Linked DNA regions of Homo sapiens: regions 2, 3, 4 and 5 are each linked to region 1. Evidence: promoter capture Hi-C in 16 types of primary human blood cells and fetal thymus (Javierre and others, 2016). All regions are on one chromosome and are shown on one strand. The core of a region is centred on a gene start or on the middle of the fragment in contact, and the rest is flanking DNA. Distances in the headings are between cores, read along the strand shown. Region 1 holds the start of GCM1 (glial cells missing transcription factor 1). Region 2 overlaps LOC124901334 (a long non-coding RNA gene). Region 3 has its middle 50 kb from the start of KLHL31. Region 4 has its middle 31 kb from the start of KLHL31. Region 5 has its middle 10 kb from the start of KLHL31.

Region 1 (2,663 bases), core at 120-2,619:
AGGCTGGAGTGCAGTGGCGCAATCTCAGCTCACCATAGCCTCCACCTCTGGGGCTCCAGTGATTCTTTTACCTCAGCCTCCCAAGTAGCTGGGATTACAGGCACGCACCACCACACCCAGCTAATTTTTGTATTTTCAGTAGAGATGGGGTTTCACCATGTTGACCAGGCCGGTCTTGAACTCCTTTCCTCAGGTGATCCATACGTCTCTGTCTCCCAAAGTGCTGGGATTACAGGCATGAGCCACTGTGCCCGGCCTGTTCTTTAGTTATTTAGTGTTATATAATCCTAATACTTGTCAATCACTGAACTCTACCAAGGGAAAGTGTATGTATATAAAAGACCGTTGACCTGAACATAAGAATGAAGTTCCTTTTTTCTTTTTTGTGTGTGCTCTAGATGTCCAGAGAAATTTCTCTAGTAACAAACTATAGAAATGATCCCTGAAAGTATAGTCTTTATAAATAAAGTTCTTGACCATTAAATGACAAGCTAATCAGAGTCTCTTCCTGTCTGTTCCACATACCCATACTGAGCTACAACCTAGTGGTTGCAGAGCACGAAGTTTCTGTTCCCCAACTGAATGTTGATTTTCAAGACTAAATCCTCATGGATTTTAAGTAAAATTCTATGTTTAGGAAAGAAACATTGTGTTACTGAAGAAATGATGCCGCAAATTGACTCTAATTCAAAGGACTTAAATAACAGGTATAGAAGATGCAGATACCAAGCAGCAGTTCCGTGTACTTACCCTGAACAGTAACGATATTGTCTCTGATGGTGCAAATTTTGTTATAACTAATTGGAATAGATCTACTTTTTAAAAACCTTGGCAAATAAGATTCATATTTTCAAAAATCAAAAACATTGTTATAAAGCCTAGGCAATATAGACATAATTATTTTGTTTTTAAATTAAGGGAAGAATAATAAAGAAAATTTTATTACAGAACAACTATGTTACATTTTAGATTTTTCTCTCGATATTAACATTTGCTAAGCGAATGAGCATTAATTTAATATTTCCCTAAAAGTTAAGAACAAAACATAGAAAAGAAGAAAAAACCATTTTACAGCCCTTAAGTAAACTCTGTTTTCCTCTTCTAGGATTGAAAAACTACACTTGTCAAGACTCCTTTTTTTAAAGCAACTTGCGCAAAGTATATTCAATTTTCATCATTTCTACAGAAAAATGAACTAGAACAAATGAAACCCTGTAGGAATAGAGTGGTCGTTGCCACATCCCTTACATTTGCCTCTCCACGGGATTTCTGGCTTTCTTACCTTCTAACTTCTTACGGAGAAGCAGACAGCACTGTGTCGTGAAAATCTTACTGCTGGTTCAAGTCCCAGCAGGCTCTGGTCATTTTCTGAGCAGACGCTGTTCCCTATTCCAGGTCAGGGTACACTATGCTAATGAGTTCTGGCAATGGTCCAATCAAAATCTAGATGCTCTAGGCTCTGGATAGGTAAGAGCAGCCTGGGAGTCACTTAACCAGCCTGATTCTTCCCAGAATGCCAGCAATGTGATGAATATTCTATGATGTGTCTCTGAACTTCCCCCTCCCTTTATGTTATGAGGACATTTGAACTAAAATGGACATTGAAAAGAACCTCATAAGGAAGTACAGATGTTTTTCTTCTTGTGATGTTACAGGTTGGGCCCCAGGCAGACGATTCACAGTAGGTCCTAATTCTCCCACTATTTACCCGGCAGGTAATAGTTCTCTCTCATGTGTGCAAGAGAGAGAAGACAGACAGACAGAGATAGAGAGATATTATGGTGAGGAAATTTACTGGAATAGACAGTGGATAGCCAACATCCTCTATACCAGAAATACTGAAATGCTATCTTAACCCTAGCAATAATGTCCCACTAATTCTAAGTGTTCTGATCCCCTAAAAATATACAATTCTTGGCCGGGCGTGGTGGCTCACACCTGTAATCCTAGCACTTTGGGAGGCCGATGTGGGCGGATCACAAGGTTGGGAGTTCAAAACCAGCCTGGCCAAGATGGTGAAACCCCGTCTCTACTAGAAATACAAAAATTAGCCAGGTGTGGTGGCGAGCGCCTGTAATCCCAGCTATTTGGGAGACTGAGGCAGAGAATTGCTTGAACCCGGGAAGCGGAGGTTGCGTGAGCTGAGATTGCGTCACTGCAGTCAAGCCTGGGTGACAGAGCGAGGCTCCATCTCAAAAAAACAAAAACAAAACAAAACAAAACAACAAAAAAAAACGAACAAACAAAAACCAATTATTTCTTCTAGAGATACCCTCAGTGCTATTCTTCCTTTTAGAGACATCCGCAGTACAGCCTAAATCAGTTCAGTTCATATGTTTTGTTCTAGGTAGTCTGCCAGGCCTTGGCAACACAAGAGAGAATGAAAGCCATTAAGAAGTTCATTCTAGTAGAAAAGATGATTAAAGCTACTAAATAAGGCCGATTTAATTTGATGTATAGAATAAAAGTAATATAAATGAGAAGGCTATTAAGCTGGAGGGAGGAGAACCAAAGGAAACCCACCAAAATAATGCTCGATGAGCCTTTTGAAGGACAAATAGATATTTATCAAGGCGTGAAGGACTGGAAGAGGGTGTTTCGGGGAGTGACAATATCCTGGACAACATGACGAGGGATCAGTACCTGTCAGGAAGGTCCAGACT
Region 2 (2,663 bases), core at 115-2,614, 590 kb after region 1:
AAGAATAGAAAGACTTTAGAACACTCTAAGCCAATAATCTCTTCCATTTTGTTTTAATTCCATCCTATTGTATAATCACAAAATCAATCACTATCATGATGTTGCTGCTTATAATCAAGATCTATTTAGATTTATTTACATTTTACTAATATCCTTGCCTACTATACCTTTCTGCATCTCACTCCTTCCTTTTTTTTTTTTGAGAAAGAGTCTCACTCTGTCACCCAAGCTGGAGTGCAGTGGCACGATCTCGGCTCACTGCAACCTCCACCTCCCGGGTTCAAGCAATTCTTCTGCCTCAGCCTCCCGAGTAGCTGGGACTACAGACGCGCACCACCACGCCCTGCTAATTTTTGTATTTACTTTAGTAGAGATGGGGTTTCACCATATTTGTCAGTCTGGTCTCAAACTCCTGACCTTGTGATCTGCCTGCCTTGGCCTCCCAAAGTGCTGGGATTACAGGCGTGAGCCACCACGCCCGGTTTCACTCCTTCCTTCTGAGTTCAACTTTGTTTTTCCTGAATTGCATCCACTAGTAGGGTCCTTTAGGGGTGTACTCTCAATTATTATTATTTTAATGATGGTTTAGTTGGACTAGAACTTTAGTCAAGATCTATTTAGATTTATTTACATTTTACTAATTTCCTTGCCTACTCTACCTTTCTGCATCTCACTCCTTCCTTCTGAGGTCAGCCTTGTTCTTCCTGAATTGCATCTACTAGTAGGGTCCTTTAGGGGTGCACTCTCAATTGTTATTATTATTTAATGATGGTTTAGTTGGGCATAGAACTTTAGTTTGATAACTATGCATCTCAAAGATATTAGTACACTTACAGTGTTGCTTATATCAATGTAATTATTGTTCATTTTGGTTAACTGACTTTTTGCTTATGAAGATCTTTGTCTTTGACATTTTGTTGTTTCATTACATTTTGTTTTGTTGTTGACACTAGGAATGAACTTATTTTTATTTTTCTTGATCAGGACTTTTTAAACTTTGTGAATCAGACAATTTATGTTTCAAAAATTTTAGACAATTTAGTCATTGCATCTTCAAATTTTGCCTCTTCCTCATTTTTTCCATGTTTTCCTTCTGGAACTTTTACTGGACATCTTTTCATTTTATCCTCTACATCTCTCCCTTTTTATTCATGTTTTTTGTCTCAATCTCTTTGGAATTCATGCTCAGAGCTATCTTCCAGTTTGCTAATGCTTACTCCAGTTGCATATTCCAACTAATGCTATTCCAGCTAATGTTATCTTCCAGCTTCCTTTGCTCTTTCTAATGCGTCAATTAAGTTTTCAGCTTCAATGAATATACTTTTCTTTTCTAAGCACTGTGTTTGTTTATTCCGTCAACTTTGCAGTTGCATTTTTCTCCTTTTTTTTTTTATTGTGTTACGTCTTTAATCATTCTAAAGATACCTGTTTTATTGCCTATGTCTGACTCACCGGAAATTCCTAGGTATCCAGTCATGCTGTTTGTGGTATCTGCTGCCTCTTGCTCCTGGTAGCTTGAGTGTTTCATAAATATAGATTGCGAATTTATCAACACTGAGCCTTTAACTGTGAGGATCCTGTGAGGCCTGGATCGAAGGTGTGATTCTGCAGCAAAGTTTTACAACTGCCTCCGTCGAATGCCCCATGGGTAGAAAACCAGGCTTCATTTTTACATGAATTGCTTGATTGAGAGTTCTTGAGCTATAAAAGATAAGCCCTGAATCCACGTGGGGGCAGGTCTTGATCAGGAACACTCAGGGCAGACTTTCTTTTTCCTCACTCAGAACCCAGACTGAAATAAACAAAATACCTTGTCATCTCCCTGTCAGTGGGTGGATTTATTTAAGGACCTCTCTATTACTGAAAATAGAGTCCTTCAAGAGTCCCCTACTGGTGTTTCAGTTCCAGCTCCCAGCCTTATATATGTGTGGAGCCAGGACCTCATCTGCCATCTCCACGCATGCATTGGCTCTGAGCTAGTGCGATGGCGCCCCCTTCCTGTCTCCCACTTCCCTCCCAGGACAACCGCAGGCTTCCTGTCTCTGTACTGCTCTGGTTTGTGACCTGTTTCAATTTTAGCTCCTGAACATTTCTTGTACTATCTTATAAAGTCAGTGCTTTTAAAAGTATGTTTTGTATATTTTTTTCCAACATTTCTAGATGTTTTATAATGGAGGCTCTACATTTTTCTATATTGTTAGAAATGTAAACTCTTATATATACTTTTACGAATAGATCCCAAAGAAGTTTTTAACTTGGTGAAATCATCTTGTTATGTGAAAATGTGGCCATCATAGCTGGCTAACATGCTAAAGAGGATTAGCCTTGGTGAACATGCTACTAACTCAAAAAGTTATAATAGGGTGCTTGAGATAATACAGGGGAAAGGTAATGCCTTTTGAGGGACTAGATAGTCAAGCAGAATATCGTAAACTGAAGGAATCTTGGAGATTAATGTATTCATTCATTCATTCATTCATTCATTCATTCATCAGTTACCTGATGCATGCCTATGACCCAGAAACTGTTGGGTAACATGCAGTTTCTTCTCATCAAGATCATCTTCTGTAGCACACGGTGAATAATAAACAGATGATTAAGTAACATAGTTATAGACGGTGATAAAAGCTGCACACTTTTAAGATGAAGACTGGGAGGCATCA
Region 3 (2,663 bases), core at 46-2,545, 570 kb after region 1:
TGTCCCTTTCCTGGAAAGCATAGTGAAAATTTGTTAGTTTCTGTGTTTGTTTGCTTTCCTGCCCAACATCTGACCTCCACGTCCTACTTAAGGGGACTCTTATAAATTATATCCTTTGACTGATAAGGTTTGAAACTTAATATTCAGAATAGCTATTAAAAGGTATTCAACATATGCAATAGGACCACATACAAGTAAAACGTACTTTTCTTATGTATTTCAGTGAAATGTCTCGTTACTTAATAAGTAATAAGAAAACATAGTATTTTTCTTATGTGAAGTATTTTATCTTCACATCTTCTAAATTCCAATATAAATTCAGTTGAAGTACTTCCACAAACACCTTTATAAAGCTGCATGGCCACTTTTAAGAAAATAGATAAAAAAGTCTGTCTTCCTTGACAGGTGCAAAGGGTGAAAGGCACCCCGTCCATAAGAGTGAGCTAGGGTCATATTGTTTCTCAGTGGTGAAGTACTGTAGTCAACTCTTTCTCTGAACTTCAAAGCAAGCTGACTTTGTCTTTAACCACATATGGGTTTGGCTCAAGGACAAAGAAGATCTTTGTTTATGGGACTCTGGGAGCATTCAGTAATTTTTCAGGTGGAGGGTGACCTGCAGAATTGTTCATTTAAATGACATGCCTTATCAGAAGCCAGAAAGAAGACTTCCTCATGAAATGCTCTTCAACCTCTGCACTTTCCTAAGATGTTTATTGAAAAGGCTCTTTGTAGAAAAATAGTTTGAGAGTGACTTCTAAAAGGTAGTTTTTAAAGTAATAAATATTGATTTTTTTAATCCAAAGAGGTATAAAAACAAGCCAAAACATGGACCACGATCCCCCCATCCACTTAACCCACTTATAAATTTAATCTTTACAGAACTGTACAAAACCAATAGGATTAGCTGCAACCTCATTCCCTTCTTATCCCCAACATTCCATTATAAAAAAGCAAATATCCTAAAATACTATCTATTTATAAAGTACATATTTTTGTACAAAAGTAATTATGCTATCCAGCACTTTGCTATTTGTGCTTAATATATACAAAAAGGAATTTAACCCTGGGTAGTTCTAACTGTATGAATCATTGCTTTACAATAAAACAGAATAAAAACTATAGGGCAGTTAGAATGATGCTTTTAGCCCAGCCTAAAAAACTCAGAGGGATGTAGCATCATCAGATAACTTTTTGGACTACCTTTGTGACCAAAAAAAAAAGGCTTTGGCTACTGTCACGGATCAGGCTACAGGTTTTACAGGTAGACTTGAATTCAAGCTGTAGAATTGACAAGTTAGGTTGTCCTTGGGCAAATAACCTCCTAACCCCAAATGTCCTTATCTAAACAGTGGAGCAAACAACACTTAGATTACAGGGTTGTTGTAAGCAATTTTTTGTTTGTTTCTTTGTTTTTTTGTTTTGAGACTGAGTCTCACTCTGTCACCCAGGCTGGAGTGCAGTGGTGAGATCTCAGCTTACTGCAACCTCTGCCTCCTGGGTTTAAGCAATTCTTGTGCATCAGTCATCTAAGTAGCTGGAATTACAGGTGTGCACTATCACATCTGGCCTTTTTTTTTTTTTTTTTTTGTATTTTTAGCAGAGACAGGATTTCACCATGCTGGCCAGGCTGGTCTCAAACTCCTGACCTCAAGTGAGCCACCCACCTTAGCCTCCCAAAGTGCTGGGATTACAGGAGTGAGCCACCATGCCTAGCCCTATTGTGAGCAATAATGAAATAATATATATAAAGCACTTAGCACTGTGGTCACATAGGAATCCTGCAGAAATTATAATTTTTTTAAAACTTTTTTTAAAAAGGTTGGTAAATAGGTAGCCTCCAAGTTTTCGTGCTTGCCTTAATTCCATCTTCTGGGAGAAGCCTGTAGGTCTTCTGTAAAAGGGAGTCCTTTCAGGCCCCGCTTCATGGTTTAGTGTCCAAGGTAATGTCTTGGTCCACCAGACAGCGCTTTCCTAGCCTGTGCTCTTCAGTCATGACTAAATCTTCTTCATTTGCATTGAAATCTTCTCTTTTATTTTTACATTTTCTACAAGAAGCAATTCCTCTTGTTTGGCAGAACATTGGCTGCACTAATTAGGATGACTTCAACGAAGGGCAAATCACAGAGAGCAACTCGAATAGGGTGTCTACTTGGGCATGGTTGTAGTTCATATTGACCGGAATACATGACCCAAAGCAGGTTTGGAACAGAGAGCACAGAAGCAAAGCGAAAAGATGGAGAGTTTCGTTTTAGTGAGTTCAATGCATCTGTGAGGAAATGTCCAAAAATGCGTTGGACTGTTGGTCATCAGCCTATGAGAAGGACTTGGGGGATTGGGGATACAAATTTAGAAGTCATCAATGCACAGGAGATTGGACCTGGGAAAAGACACCTGGAGAACTATTTTAGGCACAAAAAGATAAAGGAGAGCCTGCAAAGGAGCCTGGGAAGAGGTGGTCAGAGGTAGGAGGAAGGTGAAAAGTTTAGTTTTCAGGAACCAGTAGAGGAGGGTTTTAGGAATGAAGACTGGTTGACCATGTCCAGTGCTGCAAAGAGATCAGGTAAGTAAAGAACTGAAAGATTTCAGATTTCCATCACTCCACAAAGGTTCCTCATATTGGATTGTGATAATGGTGTGTATGCTCTGACACTGATTCTATGACT
Region 4 (2,663 bases), core at 67-2,566, 550 kb after region 1:
TCTGGAATCCAGAGCTGTATTTCAGGAAAATATAGGTGTAAATAACCACTTTTATATATTCAGTTTTTTTTTTTTTGAGATCTCCCACCACGAGAATGCTCTTGTACCAGAACAGCCTGTGCTCTATGTGTTTTGCTCTGTACCTCCAGCTTAGCACACAGTACGTTCTCAGTACAAATATTTGTTAAGTGAATAAATGAATGAATGAATGATATGTTTACTTTCATGTTTTATATGCTTACTTTTAAAACACAGAAAGCTTCAGAAAACTTTTGCCTTAAGTCATTGTGAATTAATATCTCCATGCTTAATATTTTAGCAGAAATTTTATTTTCAGCCAATTTATTACTATGACCCAGACATTGAACCTGAATAAGTCTCTATTGAGTATGTTGAGGGAATAGGAGAGGTACACAAGGCAAGATGTTTTCCTTTCCTTATAAAAGCATTGGGAAATTCTCTAAAATTTAATTTTAGTGGTAAGTTAAAGAATAGCTTAATTTAATTTTTCTATTACTCAGTTATCAGTCTGGGTCAAGAGATTTCCATGGAATTTTTTACATGCTCAACTCTTGCATATTATTCAGAAATCTTTTGCTTTTCTTTGAAAGTCAACTGTCCATTGAATATGGAAGTGTACTCAGACAACAGACAAGTAGAGAAACTGAACCGAAGGAGCCAAACACAGAAACTCTCTTCTTCCTCCCTGCATTCCCTGTCTGGGTAATGGCACCAGCATCCGTCTGTCACCCAAGACAGAAAACTACTGGTTGTCATAGGATCCTCTCTCTTCACAGACCTCGTGCCTCCCACTAAATACATAATACACAATGAAGCCTGACATCTTATCATTCTTACCTCCTAAGTACCTCTTATCTCTGTCCAGGGCCAGCTTCATGGGCATCCAACCTGTGCACTTGGACAGGGCCTCTCTCTCAGCAAGGTTACATACTTGGGGTTTAATGCTCTGCAGTTATCTTGAAATTCTTAATAATGTTTACTTCACATTTCTGCTTTGTAAGTCAAGTTCAATGGGGCAATGGAGCATGTGCCAGGGGCTAAGAGCCTAAATTCATGCATGATCCCACCTCCCGCTGTCTTCAGTGGATGAGTTTGGGGCTGTTCCCTCCTGTGCCTCCTAGTGCCCTGCCTGCCCAGCCTTCACCCTCCTGCTCAGGGCCAGATGGGTCAGGCACAAGCTGTGGCTGCTGTCCCTGTCCCAGACTAGCAGATCTAGGCTAGCAGGTCCATGGGGGGCTGCTGGAAGTTGTCTCTTGGTGGGAACACGCTCCCCTCCTACCCCATCCAGTACCCAGCCCATACTGACACAGAGGTTGAAGATCCTTGGGAGTTACCTGTCTGCCAGGGTTTGAGGCTCTAGGCTAGTGGGAAGGGAGCCACCTGGTTTGACTTCTCCAGATCCCACCCCTGATGGAGGTAACACATTGACTCAGTGGCTGGTGGGAGGGGGAGCCCAGAAGCCAACTGACAGAGCAAACGCACTCATGCTACACATTGTGGGATGAGGCCCCTGGGCAGCTGCGGGAATCTGCACTGGCCCCACTAGTGTTGTGGTGCCCAGGAGTGCTCTCTCAGCCAGCTCTGTGCCTTGGGACCCTCTTCTCTTTCTTCCAGCCTTCCTGAATCTGACCTACAGTTGTCTCTCTGGCCAGCTCCAGGCACCCACCAGGATAAGACACAAAATACGAATTGTGTGATTTTGGTGATTCTACACACGAGTCGAATGCTCATAATTGTATTTAAAACTGGCATTTGCACAGTTTAAATTGCACGTTGCATGCTGCCCATCTGAGAAGACAATTCAGGTAAGATCACCTGAGCTGAGACGTGAAGGGTGAGCTCCTAATGTGGAGCCAGTGCCATGGAGTGAGCACTTAAGGCAGAGAAAGGAGCAGTGCTGGGACCCAGCTTCAGGAGAGCGTGGAACGCACAGGCAGTGAGAAAAATCTTCTGTGGGTGGGCACAGGAGTCACTGGAAAATAATAGGGCTGGAGCAGGGCAGAAGCTAGATCTTACAAGGACTTTCTAGGCTGGAGGGCAGGTCACTAAAATGGTATTATGTAGTTTACACACGGCAGAGAAGACATTAGGAGACTTTGCATTTTTAAAGATTCCTTTTGCAAACTGGAGACTGTGTTGTGGTGGAAGGGTGCTAAGATGGGAGGCAGAGAGATGGTAAGGAGGCTATTGAGCCTGTCCTGGAGGTAGATTTCAGCCTGAACTGTGGAAGTAGCAGTGAGGATGGAGAGGAAGAGGCAGAGACAGGACCATCTTCATAATCTGTGGGGCCCAGAGCAAAATGAGAATGCAGGGCCCATTGTTCAAAGGAAAAAGTGCCATGAAAGGTTCAGATAAAGCTTATCCTTTCTTCCATGATCTCTCTCTTCTTGTCATGGTGTTTTTATGTTATTTTATACCTTTCTCAGTAAAGAAAAATGAAATCCTACATTATTAGCATGAATTTTACCCCTCAGCATGAATTTTATCCTTCCACCATCAAGCAGAATTTAAGCACACTTCCCACTGGTAAAATTAAAAGCATTTGGACAATACCAGCCAGGGTGAGAGTATCAGAAACCAGTGCTCCTATAGAAAGCTGAGGCACACCTTTCTGGAGGACAATTTGGGAATGTGTATTATAA
Region 5 (2,663 bases), core at 56-2,555, 530 kb after region 1:
CCTTCACAGTTTCCATCACCCACCGACGGTTTGTACTGCACCAAGGCCCTGAGTGATTTTACTTCTTCTTGCCTGGTCATGAAGGCAACTGAGTTTGCCATGAAGGGCTTCCCATCAGGGCACATTTTCTAATTGTCATACCATTTTGAAATTAGAAGCACCTTTATAAAAGTGACTTCCTTGGGTAGGAGACTGGACTAGAATATCCTCAGCAAGCAGCCACCTAACCACTTCTGGTTTTGCAATGACAGGGAGTTCTCTGCTCCACCAAGAAGATCTTCTTGCCTTTTTTTTCTTTCTAGAATTAATAACTTGTATTTATGTAAAATCAGTGTCTCCTAAAGTATGTTCTTAGAACGCTTTGTTCTAAGCTATGTTAAAATTGATAATAAATTTTTTAAAGAATCCAGCAGTCAGATATATATATATATATATATGTATGTATATATGTGTGTATATATATTTATATTTATCAGAACAGATAAATTACTACTTTTTTAGTGAAAGACTTCCCAGAGCCTTTAGGTGCTATTCTGCATTGTTGATCTCTAAGCCAAGGATAAATTCTCAGTCTTTTTTCACATATATTTGATCCTAAAACTTAATTTTATGGGACTGTCATGTGGCCCAAGTATTCTACAGAATAATCTTGGAAAATGCATATAGGAATTCTTAGTTTTGTCTTAATTATTCATCAAAGTCAGTCATAAGCAAAGTAAAGCAATTTGCCCAAGAATACAGGAATTGTGGCTGTTATGAAATGGGGTTGGAATTCCAGAATACTGTCTCCTAGCAGGATTCAGTGGAGTGTTTCATAGAGTATAATGCACTGATCACTAAATTTAGGGAAATATCCAGGGATAAATACACTTGGTTAAATCCAAAATTGTGGAGGAAGAAAGCATTGGTATCCTTAAAAGAAGAATACCAATGTTAAGATAGAATCAATGATAATAAAAATACATAGTAATCATAAAAAATGGGAGACCATAAAGAGATTAAGGGAGTAATTATTGGGGTTTAGCCTTATTTTCATAAAGAGCCTTTCACATTACTTCCCTCAATGTTCACATTTTACATAAAGTATAGTATGTTATCAGCGTATCCTTTATAAAAACAAGCCATATGATGATTTTGGTCTAATTTCCAGCTCCTTGAAAATTAAGTCCCAATTAATGAGCGATTGAATAGAACAAAACAAAATTTTACAATATCATCATTAAATTATCATTATTAAAAATCAGCAGTCTAGTTAATGATGTATTCTTTTGTATTCAAAGTTTAGTGTTAATCCCAAAAGCAATGGCAACAAAAGCCAAAATTGACAAATGGGATCTAATTAAACTAAAGACCTGCACAGCAAAAGAAACTATCATCATAGTGAACAGGCAACCTACAGAATGGGAGAAAATTTTTACAATCTATCCATCTGACAAAGGGCTAATATCCAGAATCCACAAAGAACTTAAAAAATTTACTAGAAAACAACAAACAACTCCGTCAAAAACTGGGCAAAGGATATGAACAGACACTTCTCAAAAGAAGACATTTATGCAACCAACAAACATATGAAAAAAAGCTCATCATCACTGGTCATTAGAGAAATGCAAATCAAAACCACAATGAGATACCATCTCATGCCAGTTAGAATGGCAATCATTAAAAAGTCAGGAAACAACAGATGCAGGAGAAGATGTAGAAAAATAGGAATGCTTTTACACTGTTGGTGGGAGCGTAAATTAGTTCAACCATTGTGGAAGACAGTGTGGCAATTCCTCAAGGATCTAGAACTAGAAATACCATTTGACCTAGCAATCCCATTACTGGGTATATACCCAAAGGATTATAAATCATTCTAATATAAAGACACATGCACATGTATGTTTATTGTGGCACTATTCACAATAGTAAAAACTTGGAGCCCAAATGTCCATCAGTGATAGACTGGATAAAGAAAATGTGGCACATATACACCATGGAATACTGTGAAGTCATAAAAAAGGATGAGTTCATGTCCTTTGCAGGGACATGGATGAAGCTGGAAGCCATCATTCTCAGCAAACTCTCACAAGAACAGAAAACCTAACACTGCATGTTCTCACTCATAAGTAGGAGTTGAACAATGAAAACACATGGACACAGGGAGAGGAACATCACACACCGGGGCCTGTCGGGTTGAGGGGCTAGTGGAGGGACAGTATTAGGAGAAATGCCCAATGTAGGTGACGGGTTGATGGGTGCAGCAAACCACCACGGCATGTGTATACCTATGTAACAAAACTGCACGTTCTGCACAGAACTTAAAGTATACGAAAAAAAAATAAAAAAAAGTTTAGTGTTAGCCTATATGTATGTATGTATGTATGTATGTATGTTTTGAGGCCATGTCAAGAAAAATGGAATTATTAATACCATAATTCTTAATAATTATTACTGTAGTTACTAATAATTGCTGCTATCAGGTTAGGAATACAATACAACCATGGTGGAGAAAGTTTGGAAGCTAAAAAATATATTTGATGAAATTCTACCTCCATATCACAGGAATTATCAACATTTGCATTTATTTCCTGCCAATGTTTCTTTATGACCATTGTGTTTTTTAATGGTTATGAATGTATTATACTTATAATTTTATAGTGGTAAAATATCCATATCACAAA

The links. Contacts are between HindIII fragments. The CHiCAGO score rates a contact against its expected background, and 5 or more counts as called.
Region 2: a fragment that was not itself captured here is called in contact with the fragment with the promoter of GCM1 in region 1 in 3 of 17 cell types (M0 macrophages, naive B cells and activated CD4 T cells); the score reaches 10.7 in M0 macrophages.
Region 3: a fragment that was not itself captured here is called in contact with the fragment with the promoter of GCM1 in region 1 in 2 of 17 cell types (M0 macrophages and M2 macrophages); the score reaches 6.4 in M0 macrophages.
Region 4: a contact is called between a fragment that was not itself captured here and the fragment with the promoter of GCM1 in region 1, in 3 of 17 cell types (total B cells, M0 macrophages and M1 macrophages). The highest score is 9.1, in total B cells.
Region 5: a contact is called between a fragment that was not itself captured here and the fragment with the promoter of GCM1 in region 1, in 4 of 17 cell types (M2 macrophages, activated CD4 T cells, M1 macrophages and 1 more). The highest score is 6.0, in M2 macrophages.

Annotation. Positions count from the first base shown.
Region 1 is chr6:53,147,472-53,150,134 of GRCh38, forward strand. It overlaps GCM1 (glial cells missing transcription factor 1), which reads right to left and starts at 1,370. Exons shown (of 6, transcript NM_003643.4): 1 at 1,283-1,370. It also overlaps the pseudogene LOC124901513. The HindIII fragment of the contact is 12,096 bases long and covers 1-2,663 here.
Region 2 is chr6:53,733,220-53,735,882 of GRCh38, forward strand. The region is part of intron 1 of LOC124901334 (a long non-coding RNA gene); the gene reads left to right. Among named protein-coding and RNA genes, the nearest start is that of LRRC1, 60 kb to the right of the region's middle. RefSeq lists an enhancer at 984-2,183. The HindIII fragment of the contact is 5,249 bases long and covers 1-2,663 here.
Region 3 is chr6:53,714,573-53,717,235 of GRCh38, forward strand. No RefSeq gene overlaps it. Among named protein-coding and RNA genes, the nearest start is that of KLHL31, 50 kb to the left of the region's middle. The HindIII fragment of the contact is 4,083 bases long and covers 1-2,663 here.
Region 4 is chr6:53,695,640-53,698,302 of GRCh38, forward strand. No RefSeq gene overlaps it. Among named protein-coding and RNA genes, the nearest start is that of KLHL31, 31 kb to the left of the region's middle. The HindIII fragment of the contact is 2,119 bases long and covers 258-2,376 here.
Region 5 is chr6:53,674,535-53,677,197 of GRCh38, forward strand. No RefSeq gene overlaps it. Among named protein-coding and RNA genes, the nearest start is that of KLHL31, 10 kb to the left of the region's middle. The HindIII fragment of the contact is 3,890 bases long and covers 1-2,663 here.